Linked DNA regions of Homo sapiens: regions 2, 3, 4 and 5 are each linked to region 1. The links are contacts of gene promoters, found by promoter capture Hi-C in blood cells and fetal thymus (Javierre and others, 2016). All regions are on one chromosome and are shown on one strand. Each heading gives the region's core, a stretch centred on a gene start or on the middle of the fragment in contact. The rest is flanking DNA. Distances are from core to core; before and after follow the strand shown.

Region 1 (3,939 bases), core at 525-3,024:
TGATTTTTCCCATTCGGGGCCATGGGAAGTCACAGGCTGTGTGTGTGTGAGAAGGGGGTGTCCCCATGGCGGCTCTGGGCCCGGAGGAGCACACGCCCCAGGCTCAGGAAAAGCTGCCTCAGAGTTGGAGTGGAAGGGGACTGCGGGAGTGTGCAAATGAATATGTGTGAGAGTGTGAGTGGGGAGTGTGTGTGTGAGTGTGACTGTGAGTAACTGTGTGTGAGTGTGTGTGTATGTATGTGCCCATGTGTGTGCTCACTGGGTAAGTGTGTGAGTTGTGTAGGTGTGAGAGCATGTAAATATGTGTGAACCATTGTGTAACTGTGTGGGCCACCGAGCTTGTGTGGGTGAGGGTGAGTGAGCACATATGACTGTGAGGATGTGTCTGCGTGAGATTGTGAGTGTGTGCATGAGTGTGTGAGTGTGTGTTTGTGTAAGTAGGTGAGTGAGCATGAGTTCATGCATATGAGCAGGTGTGAGTATGTGTGCGTGCATGTGAGTGGGTGTGAGTAAGCATGTGTGAGCGCACACATGACCAGGTGTATGAGTGTGTGTGTGCGTGCGTGCGCGAACCTCAGCTTTCCACGGCACCAGCTGCTTCCTGTGGAAGGGAGGGGCAGTCTGTGGGGGTTGTGACGGTTCCCTGGTCTCAGGGGCAGCAGAAGCTTTCTGTCCTTTTGGTCCCTAGCACAGTGGTGCCTCCTCAAAGAGGCCTTCCCTGAGCCGCCAGCAGCCTCTTTCATGGCTCCCCATCAATGGGGTTCCATAGCTCCGACCCCAGCGGCGTGAGCACATTTGCCATCCGACGGCCACTCCCTGCTTTGTGGTCCCTGCTGTGTCCCCAGTATTCAGCTCTGGTCTGGCACACAGCATGTCCAGGGCCCTCTTTGTCCAAGGCAAGAAAGAATTTGAGGCTGCGTCCAGGCCTCTTGCACCTGCCTCAGGCTCCCGCCCAGAGCCTCTACCTGTGCCCCAGCGAGCATTCTCTGCTCGCTGCTCAGAATGCTCGCAAAGGCCGGCCCTGGGGTCAGAGGCCTCCACAGCCCCTGGAGCTGGGAAGCCTGGGGGTCCACCGGCAGGCACGGGGGTCTCTTTCCAGGTAGGTGGGAACGCGTGCTTGTGGGTGTGGACAGGTGTCTGCACTGGGGTTTGTCTGTGTGTCTGTCTCCACTCACACCGGGGATGTATGTGCCCCTGCGTGTCTGTCTCTGGTGCCCACCTGTGTGCAGTCTCTGTGTTCTGCCTAACGGTGGTGTTCCCGTGATAACCGACGGTGAGGATCTCCGGTAAGCGCCGCTTCCTCTGGGAAGACGCATTTGGACGCCCGTACTCTCAACAGGTAATGGAGTTTGCAGGAGACCACCAATGCCTTGGAGTCCACTGAGGCAAGACCCAAGGACCCCACGCTACACATCAGCCACCCGGCTCTGTGCCCCATTTTACTGTTGGGGAGACGCACCTAGAGGGCAGGGTCTGGAGAGGTAGTGGCAGCCTCAGTCGCAAGCTCAGGGTGCTCTCTCTGCACTCACAGGTGCCATGGTCCCCCAGTTTCCATCCCCACCCACCCCCACTCGGCCAGTGCCCTTTGGGGGCAATGCCAGGCCAGGAAGGGCGGGCACCCTCGCGCGTCCTGGGGACAGAAGGGCGCGCACCGGGCGCGTAGCTCCTGAGCCCCGAGGCCCCTGCGCCGCGCACCGCCCCCCGCGCCCGCTCCCTCCTCCCTCCCTCCTCCTCACCCAGCTCCCTCCCCTCCCCCCTCCCTCCCTCCGCGCTCAGAGCTGCGGTTGGAGCCGAGCGCGCCGCGTCGCCCGCCGCCGGTGCAGAGCGTGGGGAGCACTCGGCCGCAGCCCTCGCCCGCCGCAGAGGGTCGCGTCCCGCGCCGCCGGCCAGGCCGCCCCGTGCCCAGGCCTTTCCATCCTTGGAGCGGATCGTTGCCCGCCTGACGCCCGCCCGCAGCGACAGCGCCCGCCGGAGCCGAGGCCGCGGCGGCGGCCGTGCCCATGCCCGGGTAAGTGGTGCTCTGGGCGCGCGGGCGCCGCCGGGGTGGGCGCGGGCGCGGCGCGGGCACAAGGCGCGGGTGGGGATGGGAGGATGACCCGGCAGGTGGTGCGGCGGCAGGTAGGGGGACACGGGTCCCCGCCCGAGGCACCTGAGCCCCGCGCCGGGCCTGCGTGTCCTTGCGGCACTGCGGCCGCGCGTCACCCCGGGGCCCCAGGCCGGCGGGCAGCGCCCCGCACCCTGCACCCTGCGCCCCGCATCGCGCGCGCACGCGCATCCGTGTCTGAGGAACAAGGCCCTTGGGGGCTGCGGGCCGGGGCTCAGGGTGGGCGCAGCCGGGGGCGCGGGATCTGGGCCGGGAGCCCGCCAGTGCGCACGCACCTTCCCGGAGCCTCGGGCACCCCCTCCCCCCCGCGCCCTCACACTGTATCATCCTTCCCCTCTCGCCTTCCCGCACCGTTCCCCGCACGCCCACGCGGCTGCCCAGCAGACCCCACCGCGGTCATGGGCAGTGCCCACGAGAAGCCGCCCGGGGCCGCACTTAGGTAACTTCTCCATCCCTCCAGGAACGGCTGTCTCCCCCTCCTCGCCTGTGTGACCTTGGCCAGCCAGCTTTTCCTGTGGCCGCCTGCGTTTTCTCACGGGTGAAAGCTCTGGCTTTAAGATTCTGGAATTTGGAATGGCAGGTGCGGCATCTCCCAGAGCCTGAGACGATGGGCTTCTCTCTCTGTGACCTGGTGTCCTTCCTTCTGCTGGCCCTTCTGGGGGTTGGTGGCTCAGCCAGCCGGCTGAGGAGGGGTGGGAGGCAGGGCAGGGGCATGGCGCCGGGGCAGGTCAGGACTGGAGGGAGTCTTGGAGAGCCCGCGGTGAGGGCTCCATGAGGGTTTAGGAGAGACTGTGGAAATGCTCCTTCGCTCACTCAAGGGGCAGGGAAGGGACCAGAATTCCTCAACGAGATGCTTGCCATTTCCTGGCGAGGTCATATAACTTTCAAAGATGAAGCCCAGGGCCTCCGACCTCAAAGGAGTCCCTGCCTGCTAAAGGATCAAGTCCAGCCTGTCCCCAACTGGCCCCCATCCTGAATTCCACTGGCACCCTAAACGTCAGCCGACTTCCCCTGGCTGACTTGGGCACCAGTCTGGCAGGCACCCCCTGCACCTCCTCCCCTCCTTTGCCCACTAGGATCTGTGCCCTCACCCCCTGCCATTGCCCCTCACTAGTCAGTGACCATCTTAAGGCAAGGACTGGCTCTTCATTTGCACAGGCCTGGCACAGAGTGGGCACCTGGTTTCTGCATGGCATATTCATGACCTTGACCTCACTGAATCTGCAGACTCACTGAACAGGAGAGGCAAGGCCTGGATTTTTGTCCCCATTTTTCAGATGGGATCATTGAGGCCCCCAAGAGGAGAAGGGATTCAGCCCTGAATTGAGGCCCCTTCCTTCATGAGCAGATGGCTAGGGACATTCCTATGAACCTGGTGGGGCAGGGAGGCGGGGAGAGGTTATCGTAATAATCAAAGACCAGCCCCACTTCCTGAGCTCCATCTGAGTCTCACCTCAACCACACGAGTGAATGGCTGTTTTCATCCCCAACCCCCACCCCCCGCCGCCACTTTTCACAGATGAGGAAACCGAAGCCATGTGGCTCATTAAAGGGGCACTGGGATGCCGAGGAGAGGGCTGGGGATGCCTGGGCCCCTGTGGGACACAGCTGAGACCCAGCAGAGGGTCCCAGGGTGAGGTCAGCCCCTCAAGTCTGCGCCATCGGAACGGGCTGGGAACTTGTGGTCCCCGGCCATTGATTGTCACTGCTGCAGGCCCCGAGGCGGGGGACAGCCAAGGACACAGCCAGTCTCCATCAGCTCCACCTGGGCCGTGCCCTGCACGGCCAGGTGGTTTGAGTGCAGGAGTAGGCATGCTCTCACACAGCAGGGGGTA
Region 2 (3,939 bases), core at 753-3,252, 700 kb before region 1:
GCTGTGCATTGAATGAGGAGATCTTGAGAGGGGGATGAAGAGGGAGTGCTCTGGGTAAGCAAACTGATTAGAAAAGTCCAAATGAGCCCAACGGATGCCAGGAAGAGGAAGACAGTAGACTTTGGGAAGCTTGCAACCTTCAAGTCCAGCACTTGGCTGTTTCTAAAGCACTTTTCCCAAGATTATCGCACAGTATACACCTGCTCGGTTTCAAGAGAAGGTCCAAGATTAGAACGAAGGCCAGTCTCAGGAGTGTGCAGCCTAAGCAGTCACACAGCGTCCCACACTTAGAAGGGCTCTGCACGCTTGAATTAATGCTCTACTGCCACTGACTTGAAATGCTTAATAATTTTTAAACAAGGGGCCCTGAATTTTTATTTTGCACTAGGCCCCACAAGTTTTATAGCCAGTCCTAGCTAAAACCTTTATTTTATAAGAGAGAAAGCTGACCCGTAGGGAGCAGATGTACTTAGTCTAAGTTCACGTGACTGAAAGTGCACCTCAGGGGCTAATGCATTTGCACTTAGCTGCTTTCAGGCACCAGCAACTAGACTGAAACAGGCCTTCAGTGTGGGAAGGCATTCCTGGGGTTCCCGTGGCAGAAAGGTAGGGGTAGCTGGAATCACAGCTCCCTCACTTGTTCTAAGGATCCAACTCAGAACTGGAGAAATCCAGGCTTTAGGGAGCTCTCAGGCTCGTAGGGAAGCAGACAGCATTAAGAAAATACAATTGGAATAGGAGCTGAGGAGGTGACAGCAGGACAACACCTGTTAGGGGCTATCTGGTGTCCCCCAAAATTCATATATTGAATTCCTAAGCCCTAGTACCTCAGAATGTGACTGTTTAGACATGGGGCCTTTAAATAGGTAATTAAGATAGAATGAGGCCGTTAGGGTGGTCCCTGATCCAATATGACTGGTGTCCATGTTAAAAAAGGAGATTCAGACACAGACTTGTGCAGAGGGAGAACCATGTGCGGACGCAGGGAGAAGTGGGCCATCTACAAGCCAAGGACAGAGGCCTCAGAATGAACCAACCCTGCCCACACCTTGGTCTCCAACTTCCAGCCTCCAGATCTGGGAGACGATGCATTTTTATGGTTTAAGCCTCCCAGTCTGTGATGCTTTGTCATGGTAGCTGGAGCAGACTAGTATAACATCCTTCATTCCTCCCACTCCTGTGAAATAAAGCCTATGACTCTTTCACAGAGAAAGGGCCCAAGACTTTAAGGGGTTAACTATCTTGCTCAGGGTCAAACCAGTAGGCAGCCATGCCAGGACTTGAACGCAGCTTGATCTGTCCCTAAGCCTGTGTTTTCCACTCCACCAGCCTAGGGGGAATTGCACCCCAATTCGCCCAATTCAGAAGGTCTGAATCCCTTTCCTAGGCATGCCCATCCCTCTGCTGCCCTGTGGGCTCAGGGACTTCCTGGCACAGATCTCCCAACCCCAGACTCAAAGCTTCCCTGTGGTTTGCATTCCTGCCCTAGACTAAGAGGACTGCCGTGGCTGGATCCTTTGACAGAAGGACTCTGGAGCCATATCAACATTTACCCTAACCCTAAGGACCAAACAAAAGAGTGAATATGACAAGCCTTTATAAGTGTCACACACCAGAGTTCCAGGTGCATGGGGTTCATGAACACCAGCACTAAGGGAACATTCTTCCTTTACTATTAAAGTAGCTACATCAGGAAATCACAGATTCTGTTGCCTTTATGTGGAGGAGCAATTCAGCTCTCTCTGTGACTCCCTCATTTCAACCCAGAGGCAGCCAGGTATCTTCCTAAACAAAGAGCTATCTACCCAGGGACAACCATGTTACTCGCCTGAAAAGCAAAAGCAACTGCAGATAGTTAAGGAGATTTTTCTTCTTTCTTCTTTTGTTAAAACAATTTTAGGTTAATGGTGCTTTATTGGGGTATAACATACATACAATAAATTACCCAGATATTGTGTCCAACTTAGTGAAAAATTTAACAAATGTACACTCCCATGGAACCATCATTCTTGTTGATATGGCAGTTGTATTTTTAAATAGAAATCCCACCTTCTTTAGCCAGGCGTGGTGACATGTGACAGTAGTTTGAGCTACTCAGGAGGCTGAGGTGGGAGGATTGCTTGAGCCCAGGAGTTTGAGGCTGCAGTGAGCTAAGGTCACGCCACTGCACTCCAGGCTGGGTGACAGAGCAAGACTCCCATCTTTATTTACAAAAAGAGAAAGAAAATCCCATCTCTCTGCTGCGAGGCTTCCGTGCCATGATGAAGAGAACAAGGGCTGGGGAAGCACAGAGAAGAGTACAAATCCAGCATGGAGGAATCCTGAAAGCATCCCCTCGAGTGTGTGACAGACAGGTAAGCTAGATCTTGTAAAGAGTCTGCTGAGAGGAGACAGGGAATAAAGGGACATTGTAGACATAAGGATAAGCAAAGGCTTAGGGGTTTCCAACAGCTTAGGAGAAAGAGTTCAGAGTAAATACAGCAGAAGATGGCTCATGGGGTGCCATCTGGGGTCAGGAACAGATATGATTATATAAAAATGAAACCAAGCTTGCTGTCTGATTTAGAAGCTATTTCTGCTACCAGAACAGTCAGTGCCTGTCTAACGTTCATGTCAGGTTTTATTGCTTGTGGTCAAAGGCTGTCGCACAGTACACGGAGCAAAGAGCAGAAACTGCATGATTTTTCAGAACAACGTCCAGAATAAATATGAATCTCTGCCTTAAATGGGACATTGCAGAGCAAGTTACATAAAGAATTATCAGTCTAATAGATCACAGCACTAGTTGATCAAAATACTTAACATCAGCTTAGCACGGACGTTTAAAGCAGTCAGCATCAAAGAGATACTTAAAGTTGTAAAACCTAAATGCATGTTTCCCCTCATTGTCCCCACGTCATTTTCTCCCTCTTTAAACGCTTGTCTTACTCTATTGCATAGAATTCATCTTTTTAAGCTGTTTTAAATCCTTTCTGGAAAAATGAAAGTATACAATATACACAGATTACCACATACATAGGTGCATGCCTGTCTGTCTCAGAAACGGCCTATCATTTCACATCAATTTTTAATACCACCCCTACCATAAACCAGATTGCCATATGCACATAAGCCTGTTTCAAGACTATTTCTTCTGTTCCAATAGTCCATTTATTCGTTCCTGGTAGTATACCACACTCTTACTTACTGTATTTTCTTTCATCTAAACAATCAAACATTCTCAAGTCTTTCCCATTAAAAAAAGAAAATTCTCCCACTGCCACCCCCACATGGCCACTAGCTACCATGCTAACTCTCTTTCCACCCTTTTACGGTCACATTTCTCAAAACGTCTGCATGTGGCCCTCTGTTTCCTCAGCCACTTTTCAATCCTAAGCCACGGCAATCTTATTTCTACTCCCACCACACCACACAAACTGCTCTTGCTAAGGTCAATGAGCTTATGTTGCTAAATCCAGAGGGCAAACTCCAGCCTTCACTAGCTTCACCCAGGTGACCACTTCCTCTCCCTTTGCTTCTGTGCCCTTCCATCCTCTTGGGTTTCCTGCAGTTGCTTTCCTTATTTTCCATCCCCCTTCTTGGCCTCTCCTCCTCTTCCCACTTCTTAAACACGGAAGCTCCTAGGATTTCGGGGCTGGGTTACATTCTCTTAACAGGCTCACCACAGTTTACCTAGAAGCACTCCCCCTCATCTATGGCTTCCAACATTACCTGCAACATGGACCATGCTGCATGTTCACCAAACACGGTTTCCTTTTCCTGCTTTACATGCAGTTAGACCACATTTCCTGGAATCCCTTTTGATTATGTGCCACTAGCTTCTGACCAATGGGATGTGGGAAGAAGAGATGTTTAACACTTGCAGGTCTGGCCACTCAAACCTCACACGTGATCTTCCATGTTCTCTCTTTTCATTCATCTGCCAGCCCGGTGCCAAAA
Region 3 (3,939 bases), core at 1,041-3,540, 590 kb before region 1:
TGCCAGCCTCTACCTCCTCCTCCTCCCCCGATCTCCCTTCAGCTGGCCTGGGTCGGGCTATGCCTCCATGAAGCTTGTCCACTGCTCCCATGGCTAAACCTGTTCTGGGCCCTGCAGCACAGCAAGGTCAGTTTCCATGCCTCTCTGCCCCTGCCTGACCCTGCTGGGCCCAGAGCTTCACCAGGGCAGGCCTGGGGCTCAGGCTTGTCTGCACTTCCAGGGCCCAGGGACAAAGGCAGGAGTGACTGCAATGTGGCTTGGAATTAGGCTTTGCTCCATGGACCTAAGGAGGTCTGGTTTGGGGTGAAGGGTCCACCCCCAGAAAGCCTGGGAGCTCTATATTCTCTCTGGCCCTGGCCACACCATGGCCAAGCCTGCTGGGCGTCATGCCTTGCAGTACGGCCAGAGAATGCATCAGACTTGGAGGGATGTGTGTCCGGGGTGGCCTGTGGTCATCTGGGGGAGGGCTCTGAGCGTGGCTGGCAAGAGGAAAGCTCAAAGGGGCCCTTTGTCCTCATCCCCGAGTCTGCGACATCCCCTCCCACTGGTTTTCATTCCATATTTGGTCTGTGGGTTTTCTCAGTCTCTCGTACCCCTCAGTCCCCACCAGTCCATGAATGCAGAACTACCCCTGGCCTCACAAATGGCCACTTTGGATACCCTGGTGGGGTCACAGGCTGCGGTTGCCCCTGCAAATGGTTGGTAGAAGCACGGGTTGGGAGGTTTCATTTCTACCCAGAAGGGCCCTTGCTGTGCCTGAGGGAGGGCTGGGCTCAGGTCAGGGGTGGGAGACCGGGGAAGGGGCCTACAGGTCAGTGGCCCGAGCTCAGCTGCAGCACCAACAAGGCTCAAGGCCAAGGAGGAGATGAGAGCACATCAAAAGGGGGCAGTGGGTCTGGGCGGCCCACCGCACTCACCAGCCCAAGAAGGGGGAGACTTTTCTCACCTGCAACCCACTGGGTCTCTCCTTTGGCCCGCAGCTCAAGAGGTGAGGAAATTGTCCGCCTGCAGATCCTGACACCCAGGGCAGGACTCCGCCTGGTGGCCCCAGACGTGGAAGGCATGAGGTATGGGGGTCCTGCTGCTGTCCTGGCTCCCTGGACACCATTCTAGAGATGGAAGCAGCAGCCTCAGGTGGCAAATGATGAGGCCTAGGGCCGGCTCTGCCACTGTAGGGCCAACAGGTTGATGGGAGGCATGGTCGACCTGGGTTTTCTGCCCCATCTCATTCTTTCACTCAGAAAACCATTATGGAGCAAGCGCTTAGTCTGTGTAAGGGCACAGGCCCGACCCTGGGACACAGTAGTGAACAGGACCCCCTGGCTGGAATTGCCATCTGCCTGGTGGGGGAGGCAGACGCCGACATGAGCATGAATGAGGTCAGCCAGAGATGCTGTGTGCCAGGAGCCCCTGGGAAGTGACAGCTCAACCCTGCCAATTGCTGAAGATGGGACCAGTCAGCCGTGCTGGGGATGTTGGTGGGGGTGGGAGGAGGATTGGGTCTAAGGAGCCCGTGAAGGCCACTGAGGCCATTGCCCTGCCTGTGTGAGAGGGCCACTGGGAATAGAGTGGGGTCACTGGGTCAGAGTCCACAGCTCTCCATGCCACTAGGCTCTGTGCTGGGGAGGGGTGGGTCAAGGAGGCCACAACCAGCAGGGAGCACGAGGGGCTCAGCCTCTGCCCTGGGGTGGGGGTCAGACAGCCAGGTGACATGCAGGCAGGATTCGGGGGCTGGGGTGGAGGCTAGGAGAGATCCGAGCAGGGAGACTGGGCCCCTACCTTGTGAAGGCCAGGGACTGGGGAGAGAAGCGGGAGTGTACACTGAAGGTCATCCCTTAATCCCTGGGGTGGCAGGAACTTCGAGCAGAGGCCTCTCAACAGTGTGGTGGGTGGGAGTGCTTGGGGAGGGCTTCCTGGAGGAATTGACATCCAAGATGAGTCCTGAGCGATCTCTAGGTCCCTTTACCCTCCTCCTTGGCTCCTCCCACTTTAATTCTGCCCCCAAGGCACCAAGTCCTGTCCACTTTATTTTAGAGATGTTTCCATCCCTATTGCTCTGCCCCTGGCCCAGGCCTCCACTGCTACTCACCCAGTTGTCTGCGACCGTTTCCTACTGTCCCATCCCTGGACTCCCTTCCACATCTACCTGGGTGATGTTTCCAAAGGGCAGAAGTAGTTATGCCAGCCCCCTGCAGAAAGCCCTGCAAAGCCCCTCCCACTATGCTCTGCAGCCTGAACTCAGTACCTGGCCCCACCTGCAGGCTCCTCCCTCCCTGGGCCTTTCTCTGTGCAGGCTGGAGGCTCTGCCTGAGATGCCCTTTCCCCTCTTCATCTTTCTGTTCCACCTCAAATGTCCTGTCTTCTGGGTCATGTCCTTCTCCTGAGTTTCTTCCCCAGGCAGCATCTGAGGGCTTGTCGATTCTGCATGGCAGCATCCATTCTGCATGGATGTAGATACAATCACTATGCCCATTTTACAGATTAAGAAACTGAGACCCTGAATGGTTAAGTAACTTGCTCAAGGTCACATGGTCCAGAGCAGGCAGATCCGCTCAGCCTGCCCTACTCCCACCTTCCACCTTCTGCACCATAGCTCATTGTACTAGTTGGGGCAGGGAGCAGGGGGACAGAGAGGGGTGATGGAAAGACTTGGCATTTGCTGAGTGAACTCATTTGACGAGTTTATTCGTAGGCATTGAAGTCAAAATTTCCAGGAGGGAGGTATTTTAAGGTTTGTGATTGAGGTTTGAGAGAGTGATTAGGGCTCAAGAGATTTCCACGTTATATGCAGACAGAATAGAGCTGAAATCATGAGCGTAAACTAGCTTTACATGGGGCTCATGGTGAGCCAATGGAAGCTGGGCACCGACCTCAGTATGCAGGTGGCAGCCACCTGGCCAGCCCTCCTGGGGACAGCTGGGCGAGGGCAGTCTCTTCTCGCCATGTTGAGAGTGGGCCTCCTGAGGGCCAGTTGGGAGTTAGTGGGTGTGCAGGCCAGTATAAAGGAGAGGCAGGAACAAGTGGAGATCCCTGCTTCAAGGGTGGCAGTTGACACCTTGGGAGGGGAGGAGACAGCCCAGCAAGTGGTGGAGCACGCCAAAGGGAGGAGAAAAAGGCGGAGACCAGGAAGGTGTGTGGCCAGGGAGGTAGGCAGGTGGTGTTGACAGGATCAAGGGAGGAGGGGTGGTGAGAAGGCTGGAGTGGCCCACTGGGTCAGCAGTACTGAATGGTGGTTTGAAATAATGATGGGACTGTCTCTCCTGGATTTGACAACATGGGGCTCCCTGAGGACCTGAAGGAGAACAGAAGGGGGCTTAAATTAGGAGATTAGGATCAGGGATATAGTCCAGAACTCAAATCCCAGCTACTCCTCTTATTACCTGTGAAATTTGGGGCAAATCACAGGGGCTTTGTGTGCCTCCGTTTGCTCATCTGAAAGATGGGCATGGGTGATAACAGTGCCCATATCCTGGGGTTGATTTGCAGAGTTAATGCATATAAAGTCACGAGAACAGGCTCAAATGCTCAATCAACAGTAGCTATTGCCAGGCACAGTGGCTCACACCTGTAATCCCAGCACAGTAGCTATAAAACAACAACAACAAAAAACAAAAAACAGTAGCTATTAGTAATGAAGTTTTGATAATTGGCCAATCTGTCAATCAGCAGGGTTTGTTTGTTTTTGGTTCTGTTTTTTAAGACAGCATCTTGCTGTGTGTGCCCAGGCTCAAGTGCAGTGGTGCCATCACAGCTCGCTGCAGCCTCAACCTTCCAGGTTCAACCTCCCAAGTAGCTGGGACCACAGGCACACACCACCACTCCTGACTAACTTTCAAAAATATTTTTGTGGAGATGGAGTCTAGCTGTGTTTCTCAGGCTGGTCTTGAACTCCTGGCTCAAGTGATCCTCTTGCCTCGGCCTCTCAAAATGCTGGGTTAT
Region 4 (3,939 bases), core at 634-3,133, 540 kb before region 1:
CACTCTGCCCTCTGCCTTCACAGCCTCTCTGAATAATGCACCCTGCTTGAGAACTGCCTCTCCCTCTCTCTGAAAGTCTGCTGCACATTGCTCTTCATTTCTGAGGCCCACTGTACACTGTGCTCCGCATTGTGCTAGCTGTCCAGTTGTGAGCTTGCTGCAACGTGGCATGCATAATGCTTGGCTGCCAGATCACCTCCTTATCATGTCCTCTGCCTGTAGTGCCCTTGGCAGATCCCCCTGCTTCAGTATCTCCTCCCACAAATGTCTTCTGCCCATCGATGCCTTCTTTTGATCAGCACCTTGATGTTCCAGTTGGTCACTTAATCACTCAACAAGCATTGATTGGATGTCTACCCATGTGCCAGACGTGGGGGCCCCAGTAAAGTAGACACAGTTTGTATTTCTGTGGAGCTCACAGTGTAAGAGGAGAGGAGTAAATCAAACATCCCACAACAAAATACTGTTGTGATAAGTGCTCTGAACAAAACATACAGGGTATGTTTTGGAGACAGGGTCAAGGCCCTCACTGCAGCCTTGACCTATATGCTATAATATAGTGACCTACTCTGGGCTGCTTGGTTATCGGGGGAACCCGCCCCCAATATTTCAACGTAAGTTCTTTCTGTTTTCCATAAATGTCAGCCAGCTGAGAAATAGAAAGAGTACAAAGAGAGGAATTTTATAGCTGGGCCTCCGGGGGTGACATCACATATTGGTAGGACTGTGATGCCCACCTGAGCCACAAAACTAGTAAGTTTTTACTAAGGATTTCAAAAGGGGAGGGGGTGTACAAATGGGGAGTAGGTCACATGCTTTAAGGGGCAAAAAGCAGAACAAAGATCACATGCTTCTGAGGAAACAGAGCAAGGACAAAATCAGAACTCCTGATAGGGGTCTATGTTCAGCTGTGCATGTATTGTCTTGATAAACATCTTAACAGAAAACAGGGTTCAAGAGCAGAGAACCAGTCTGACCTCAAATTTACCAGGGCTGGGGGTTTCCCAATCCTAGTAAGCCTGAGGGTACTGCAGGAGACCAGGGCGTATTTCTATCCTTATCTCAACCTCATAAGACAGACACTCCCAGAGCGGCCGTTTATAGACCTCCCCCCCCAGGAATGCATTCCTTTCCCAGGGTCTTAATTATTAATATTCCTTGCTAGGAAGAGAATTTAGTGATATCTTCCCTACTTGCACACGTCTGTTTATAGGCTCTCTGCAAGAAGAAAAATATGGCTCTATTCTGCCCGACCCCACAGGCAGTCAGACCTTATGGTTGTCTTCCCTTGTTCCCTAAAAATCGCTGTTACTCTGTTCTTTTTCAAGGTGCACTGATTTCATATTGTTCAAACACACATGTTTTACAATCAGTTTGTACAGTTAACACAATAGTGGTTCTGAGTGGACCTGATGTATATTCTCAGCTTACGAAGATAACAGGATTAAGAGATTAAAGTAAAGACCGGCATAAGAAATTATAAAAGCATTAATTTTGGGAGCTGATAAATGTCCATACTAAAATGAAATCTTCACAATTTATGTTCCTCTGCTGTGGCTCCAGCCAGTCCCTCCGTTCAGGGTCTCTGACTTCCCGCAACATCTCTCCCTTTCTTTTTGAACATAACAGGATTAAGAGATTAAAGACAGGCATAAGAAATTATGAAAGTACTAATTTTGGGAACTGATAAATGTCCATGTTAAAATGAAATCTTCACAATTTGTGTTCCTCTGCCACGGCTCCAGCTGGTCTCTCCGTTCGGGGTCCCTGACTTCCCACAACACTTAGTCAGGGAAGCTTTTTTACATTTTTGTTTTTAGAGACAGATTTTTACTCTGTCACCCAGGCTGGAGAGCAGTGGCATGGTCGTAGCTCACTGCAACCTCAAACTCCTGGGCTCAAGCAGTTATCCAGGCTCAGCCACCTGAGTTGCTGAGACTACAGATGCACATACCACCACATCTAACAGAGAAGCTTTTCACAAGGACATGATATTTGGCTTTAGTATGAGTTTGCTATACAAAAGGAGGCTATCTTCCAGGCCCTCTTTAATGTTCCCCTGCACTCAGCTCCACCCCTCAAGGCTACTCACTTTCCTTGTACAGTGCATCAAGCCTTCTGTGGGGCACTGGGGATACATCAATGAGCAAGACAGACAATCTGTGAATTTGTGGAGTGACCATCTCATGGGGAGAAAGACAAAGCAACAATCCTATTTCAGTCGCAATAGCTAAAGGAGCACAGAGGTGTGTCACCTGGATTTCTGGGGCTAAGGATGGTATTCTGGGGGAGGTGACCTCTGAACTGAAACCTGAAGGATGAGAAAGAATCATTCATTCATTCATCCATTTAATAATTTAAATATTTCCTGAGCACCCACTGTGGGCCACACACTATAGTAGGCACTGAGGACACACCAGTGACAAATCAAAGACCCTGTCCTTCTGGTCAATGATAGGAAGCAGGTGCTAAATAAACATGAAAGTCTTTACTCTTTTTTCATTTTCTTTTGAACCCACTTCTTTGAGGCTCTCACCTCCACCATGGTACTAAAAATGCTAGTGCTAAGGTCCCCAATGACCACCACATTGCTAGACCCCATGCACACTTCTCAGGCCTCATTGACTGAGCAGCAGCGTTTGGTCCAGTGGACATGTATTAGTTTGTTTTCACACTGCTATAAAGAAATACCTGAGACTGGGTAATTTATAAAGGAAAGAGGTTTAATCGACTCACAGTTCCACATGGCTGGGAGGCCTCAGGAAACTTACAATCATGGCAGAAGGTGATGGGGATGCAGGCACCTTCTTCACAAGGCTGCAGGAGAGAGAAGTACAAGCAGGGGAAATGCCAACGCTTATAAAGCCATCACATCTCTGAGAAGTCACTATCACGAGAACAGCATGGGGGGAACTGCCCCCATTATCCAGTCACCTCCCTCTCTCAACATGTGGGAATTATGGCTCCCTCCCTTGACGTGTGGGGATTACAATTCGTGATTAGATTTGGATGGGGACACAGAGCCAAACCATATCAGGTCCATTCCCTTTGCTAGGCCTCTAGGCCCATTCTGCCTTTCCTTCCACCTCACTGGTCACTCCTTTTCTATCTCCATTGCTGGTTCTTTCTCATCATCCCATTCTCTCAACTTTGGAGTACTCTAGGACTTTGTTCTTAGACCCCTTCGCTTTTCTATCTGCACTCACTGCGTTGTATCACTGGGGTCCAGGCTTCAACAGATACAGTATACACTGCCTCCTTCTGGAATTGCAGCTGCTCCAGCCCACATCATCTTCCTGAACTTCAGACTTGTGTTTCAACTTCCCACAGCTCATTTCCACCTGGGGAGTCTAATTGTCATTTCATACTCAACCATGGAAGCCATGCTCTATGCATTGCCATCCACAGCTCCGTAAATGGCAGTCCCATTCTTCAGCTTGCATAGACCAAAACCTACACATCACCTGCTGATCTCCCACTGCACTTCCAGCCCATCAGCCTAGCCTGTTAACTCTCCCTGCCAAACAGATCCAGAGGCAAACCATTTCTCCCCACCTTCACCATAAACATATTGTCCCCTAATCCCCCATGTGGATGATTACAATAACCTAAGCAATCATCTTTCCTTCCTTCCCACCCTGAAGTGTACCCCAGCATGGCTGCAAGAGTGAAGAGTTTCAATCCGATCACATCCCTCTTCTGCTCCATACCTTCCCCAGGCCTCATTTTACTTGGACTAAAAGCCAGAGTCCTCAAGGTGGCTGGCCAAGCAGGTGCTGCTTTATCCAGCCCCCACCACCTTTCCTTCTTACTCATACCATTCCAGGCATTCTCTGGCCTTGAGCTGTGTGCTGGTTGTCTCTTCTGCCTGGAATGCTCATCTCCCAGATGCCCACGTGGCCATCTCCCTTGCGTCCTTCACATCTCTGCTCAGATGCT
Region 5 (3,939 bases), core at 503-3,002, 520 kb before region 1:
CCAATAAAGCGTACTAGCAAAAAGGAGGGTGGGAGAGGGAAGGCGAGATGGGCATGAGGAGTGAGTGCTGAAAGGACAGGAGCTCATGGTTTCAATTGTGTGGAAGCTGAAATCAGGCAGAAAAGGGACCCAGATAAGGTCCCCACTGCCAGACTGCAGGAAACCAACAACTCTTGCCCTAGAGATGGCCCTACCCTGCAGAGTCTGTGAACCCTGGCAGGCAGTCCCCTCTCCCCACTCTTTGCCAGGGTTCCAGAGCCCCTCCCAACAGGGCCCAACTCACAGCTGCTCACCTTGCTGGGTTGGCCCTGCTGGCAGCGCGGATGCTGCAATAACACAGCCACTTCAGACTCGCTCTGCTTTTCAACTCTATCCAGTTAGGCAGTTCCTGACTCAGGCGTGATGGGTCCTGCTTCACTGGATCTGTCCAAGGCAAAGCAGAGGTATTTTGCTGTGATTCTGTCCCACACACATGTCCCTGCCCAGGCCATGCCAATTCAGACTCTGCATAGGTGTTCACTAGGACCCTGGTGCAGGGATAGAAGAAACTGCTCAACTGACAGAGGGAGCGGAGCGGGGGGAGGAGTCGGGGGACGAATGGTGAGAGGGGTGGGAGGTGAGGAGGGAGGTAGGGGGTGGGGGCAGGGGGGCTGCTGGTAGGGCAGAAGGGATCCTAAGGTAAGGTTGCTGCCCTACCCCCACTGCAAACTCCATTCCCTCCCAAGCTCCGCCCCTACAGCCATGTTGCAACCCTTCCTAAGCCCCACCTCAAAACCTGCACCCCTGCTGCCAAACTCTGCCTATAACTAAGTTGCACCTCTACCCCAAGCTTAGCCCCCCACCAAGTCTAACCCCTTCCACCACCCAAGTCTAACTCGTGCCTCAAGCCCTGCCCCCACCCACAGTCCAACTCCTACCCCAAGCCCTGCCCCCTCACCAAGTCCAACTCCTACCCCGAGGCAAGTCTAACTGATATCCCCAAATCCCCTACCTCCATTCCCCTGCTCCCCCCAATCCCCACCCGGTTATCTACATACACCCACACCACCGACATCAGTGGAAGCAGGCAGAATCTAGGAGGGGAAGGTTCGAAGCCACTTTCCCTCAAGGGCAAGGGCCAAGAGCTACTATCCTGACTGCAGTGTCTCCGGGCAGGTCAAGGGTGGAATAGGTCTCCCTGAAGTTTGTTTGTTTTTCTCTGAAACGGAGTCTGGCTTTGTCACCCAGGCTGGAGTGCAGTAGCGTATCTCGGCTCACTGCAACCTCCGCCCCCTGGGTTCAAGTGATTCTCCGGCCTCAGCCTCCTGAGTAGCTGGGATTACAGGCGTACACCACCACGCCCGGCTACTTTTTGTATTTTTAGTAGAAACGGGGTTTCCCCATGTTGGCCAGGCTGGTCTCCAACTCCTGACCTCAGGTGATCCACCCGCCTCGGCCTCCCAAAGTGCTGGGATTACAGGTGTGAGCCACCGCGCCCGGCCAGGTCTCCCTGAAGTTCTGCCTGGAAATGGCAGGGATTCCTTGGCGTGCTGGGTGTGATCTAGTGGGATCCCGCCTCCAGGGAAACCTATGGCCACCAGCCCCTAGACCCCGTGGAAAATAGCAAGAGTTACTGGGGGGTTCCCCCGTAATCTGGGTTGCTGTCCGAGCCCGGGGTCCAGCTCCGTACCTGCCGGAGGTGCCTCCAAGCCGGAGTTCCCGCGCAGCGCGACCACCACACGTCTATGGCGGCTGCCGCCTCCGTGCTGACTGCGCCACGAGGCTGTGGCGGGAAGAGGTTGTCTGGTGACGACCGCCCCCCTACCCCATGAGCGGAACTGCACACGGCCCGCTCACGGTTGCGCACTGGTGACATAAACCCTCCTACTTCCTGCAAGGTGGTTCCTCACCCCACCCACCCCCGTGCCGACGACGGTGGCAGCCAGGCTCGCCACGTGCCATTTGGCCCAGCAGCCACTGTGGCTCTTCCTCATTGGAGGGGAGCTGTGGCGTCCCAAGCCCATGGGTGAAGGGCCGGGTGCAAATCACCCAGTGCAACGTATAGGCCACGTGAGCGCCCTTATAAACGAGTCATAGCCCTCGTTTATTTTTTATTGGACTGTTCTAGGGGAGGAGGGCAAAAAATACAGCTACTGCCTGCATTTCACAAGGGCATTAGTTTTTTTTCGCTGCTCACTGAGAGCCAGATGACTGAAAATATTCCATTCTCCCATTATTCTCCTGATTTCACGACCAAACATTACGCACCTAGTACCCAAACTGCTTCCTGTCGTTTCCCAAAGCAGGTTTCTTCCACAGAGGGAAGGTCCTGCGGCTTGCAGCGGCCCGAAAGTACTGTTCCAGAAAAGGGTGTGGGTGCGGCACAGGTAGCACACTTCAAGGTGCACACAAATCCCCTGGTAATCTTAAAAAAATGCGTGAAGAGATCTGAGGCAGGGATGGTTCCACTGAAAGCTAGGTTACTTGCTGCATATCCCTGCCCAGGCTGTGTGGAGCAAGGGTCTGAAGCCTATGATTACATTTCAGGGCCAGAAGTTGTGGACCTTTAGTGACAGAATATATTTGTTTTTCTTTCTCTGTGATTAAAAAAGAAAAGGCTTTTTCTGGTACTGTTTTAATAAATATGTTAAAAGCGGACAACATTTTAAATTTATGGTCACTGAGAAAGATATTTGCAGATATCACCTTCTTCAGCCAGGTGTGGTGGCTCACACCTGTAATCCCAGCACTTTGGGAGGCCAAGGTGGGCAGATCACTTGAGATCAGCCTGGCCAACATGGCGAAACCCCGTCTCTACTAAAAATCCCAAAATCAGCTGGGTGTGTAATCTGAGTAGCTGAGTAGCTGTAATCCCAGCTACTCAGGAGGCTGAGGCACGAGAATCGCTTGTACCTGGGAAGCAGAGGTGGCAGTGAACCCAGATCACACCACTGCACTCCAGCTTGGGCAACAAAGTGAGAGCCTGTCTTTTTTTTTTTTTTTTTTTGAGAAGGAGTCTCACTCTGTCACCCAGGCTGGAGTGCAGTGGCGCGATCTCGGCTCACTGCAAGCTCCACCTCCTGGGTTCACACCATTCTCCTGCCTCAGCCTCCCGAGTAGCTGGGACTACAGGCGCCCGCCACCACGCCCGGCTAATTTTTTGTATTTTTTAGTAGAGACAGGGTTTCACTGTGTTAGCCAGGATGGTCTCGATCTCCTGACCTCGTGATCCACCCACCTCGACCTCCCAAAGTGCTGGGATTAGAGGTGTGAGCCACCGTGCCTGGCCGAGATCCTGTCTGGAAAAAAAAAAAGACAATTCAGAGCCCATTAAATCAATCTCCTTCATGTGACAAGGAGAAAATAGTGCTGAAAGCCATTGCTTAGCTGCCTGGTATCACAACATCACAGAAGGTGATGTTTTGGAAAGAGGTTCTGCCTCAGTCACCTCTGGGCTACTGGGTGCTCCCCTGGCCAGACGTATACTTCAATTCATTCTATTTCTCACTAGAAGACTAGCTTCCTCTCTCTCTCTCTTTTTTCTGTCTCAGTCTGTTTTGTGCTTCTATAATCAAATACCTGAGACTGGGTAACATATAATGAACAGGAATTTATTTAGCTCATGTTTCTGAAGGCTGAGAACTCTAAGATCAAGGGGCTGCACCTGCTGAGGGCCTGGCATGCAGGCATCAAGACGTGAAAGCATGTGTAAGAGTGAGCAAAAGAAAGAGAAGAAAGGGGCCTAAACTCATTTTTTAAAAAAAAAATCAGGAACTCACTCCCACAATAACAAATCCACTCCCGAGATAACAGCATTTGTCCATTCACACTGGCAGAGTCCTCCTCACCTAATCACCTCTTAAAGGTCCCACTTCTCAACAGTTGTATTGGGGATTAAGTTTCCAACACATGAACTCTGGGGGACACATTCAAACCATAGCACTTTTCTTTAAAAAAAGT

What was found. Contacts are between HindIII fragments. The CHiCAGO score rates a contact against its expected background, and 5 or more counts as called.
Region 2: a contact is called between a fragment that was not itself captured here and the fragment with the promoter of ATP2B3 in region 1, in 1 of 17 cell types (neutrophils). The highest score is 6.5, in neutrophils.
Region 3: a contact is called between a fragment that was not itself captured here and the fragment with the promoter of ATP2B3 in region 1, in 4 of 17 cell types (non-activated CD4 T cells, total B cells, activated CD4 T cells and 1 more). The highest score is 6.6, in non-activated CD4 T cells.
Region 4: a fragment that was not itself captured here is called in contact with the fragment with the promoter of ATP2B3 in region 1 in 14 of 17 cell types (M1 macrophages, total CD8 T cells, non-activated CD4 T cells and 11 more); the score reaches 12.1 in M1 macrophages.
Region 5: a contact is called between the fragment with the promoter of PNMA5 here and the fragment with the promoter of ATP2B3 in region 1, in 2 of 17 cell types (total CD8 T cells and activated CD4 T cells). The highest score is 5.3, in total CD8 T cells.

Annotation. Positions count from the first base shown.
Region 1 is chrX:153,515,868-153,519,806 of GRCh38, forward strand. It overlaps ATP2B3 (ATPase plasma membrane Ca2+ transporting 3), which reads left to right and starts at 1,775. Exons shown (of 22, transcript NM_001001344.3): 1 at 1,775-2,008; 2 at 2,565-2,684. The HindIII fragment of the contact is 7,787 bases long and covers 664-3,939 here.
Region 2 is chrX:152,810,788-152,814,726 of GRCh38, forward strand. No RefSeq gene overlaps it. Among named protein-coding and RNA genes, the nearest start is that of CETN2, 18 kb to the right of the region's middle. The HindIII fragment of the contact is 1,089 bases long and covers 1,459-2,547 here.
Region 3 is chrX:152,927,595-152,931,533 of GRCh38, forward strand. It overlaps ZNF185 (zinc finger protein 185 with LIM domain), which reads left to right. Exons shown (of 25, transcript NM_001395254.1): 13 at 981-1,067. It overlaps LOC105373372 (a long non-coding RNA gene), which reads right to left. Exons shown (of 3, transcript XR_007068369.1): 2 at 3,381-3,939; 3 at 2,661-3,292. Among named protein-coding and RNA genes, the nearest start is that of ZNF185, 31 kb to the left of the region's middle. The HindIII fragment of the contact is 4,438 bases long and covers 72-3,939 here.
Region 4 is chrX:152,975,720-152,979,658 of GRCh38, forward strand. No RefSeq gene overlaps it. Among named protein-coding and RNA genes, the nearest start is that of PNMA5, 16 kb to the right of the region's middle. The HindIII fragment of the contact is 177 bases long and covers 1,796-1,972 here.
Region 5 is chrX:152,992,364-152,996,302 of GRCh38, forward strand. It overlaps PNMA5 (PNMA family member 5), which reads right to left and starts at 1,753. Exons shown (of 4, transcript NM_001184924.2): 1 at 1,670-1,753; 2 at 294-423. The HindIII fragment of the contact is 6,257 bases long and covers 828-3,939 here.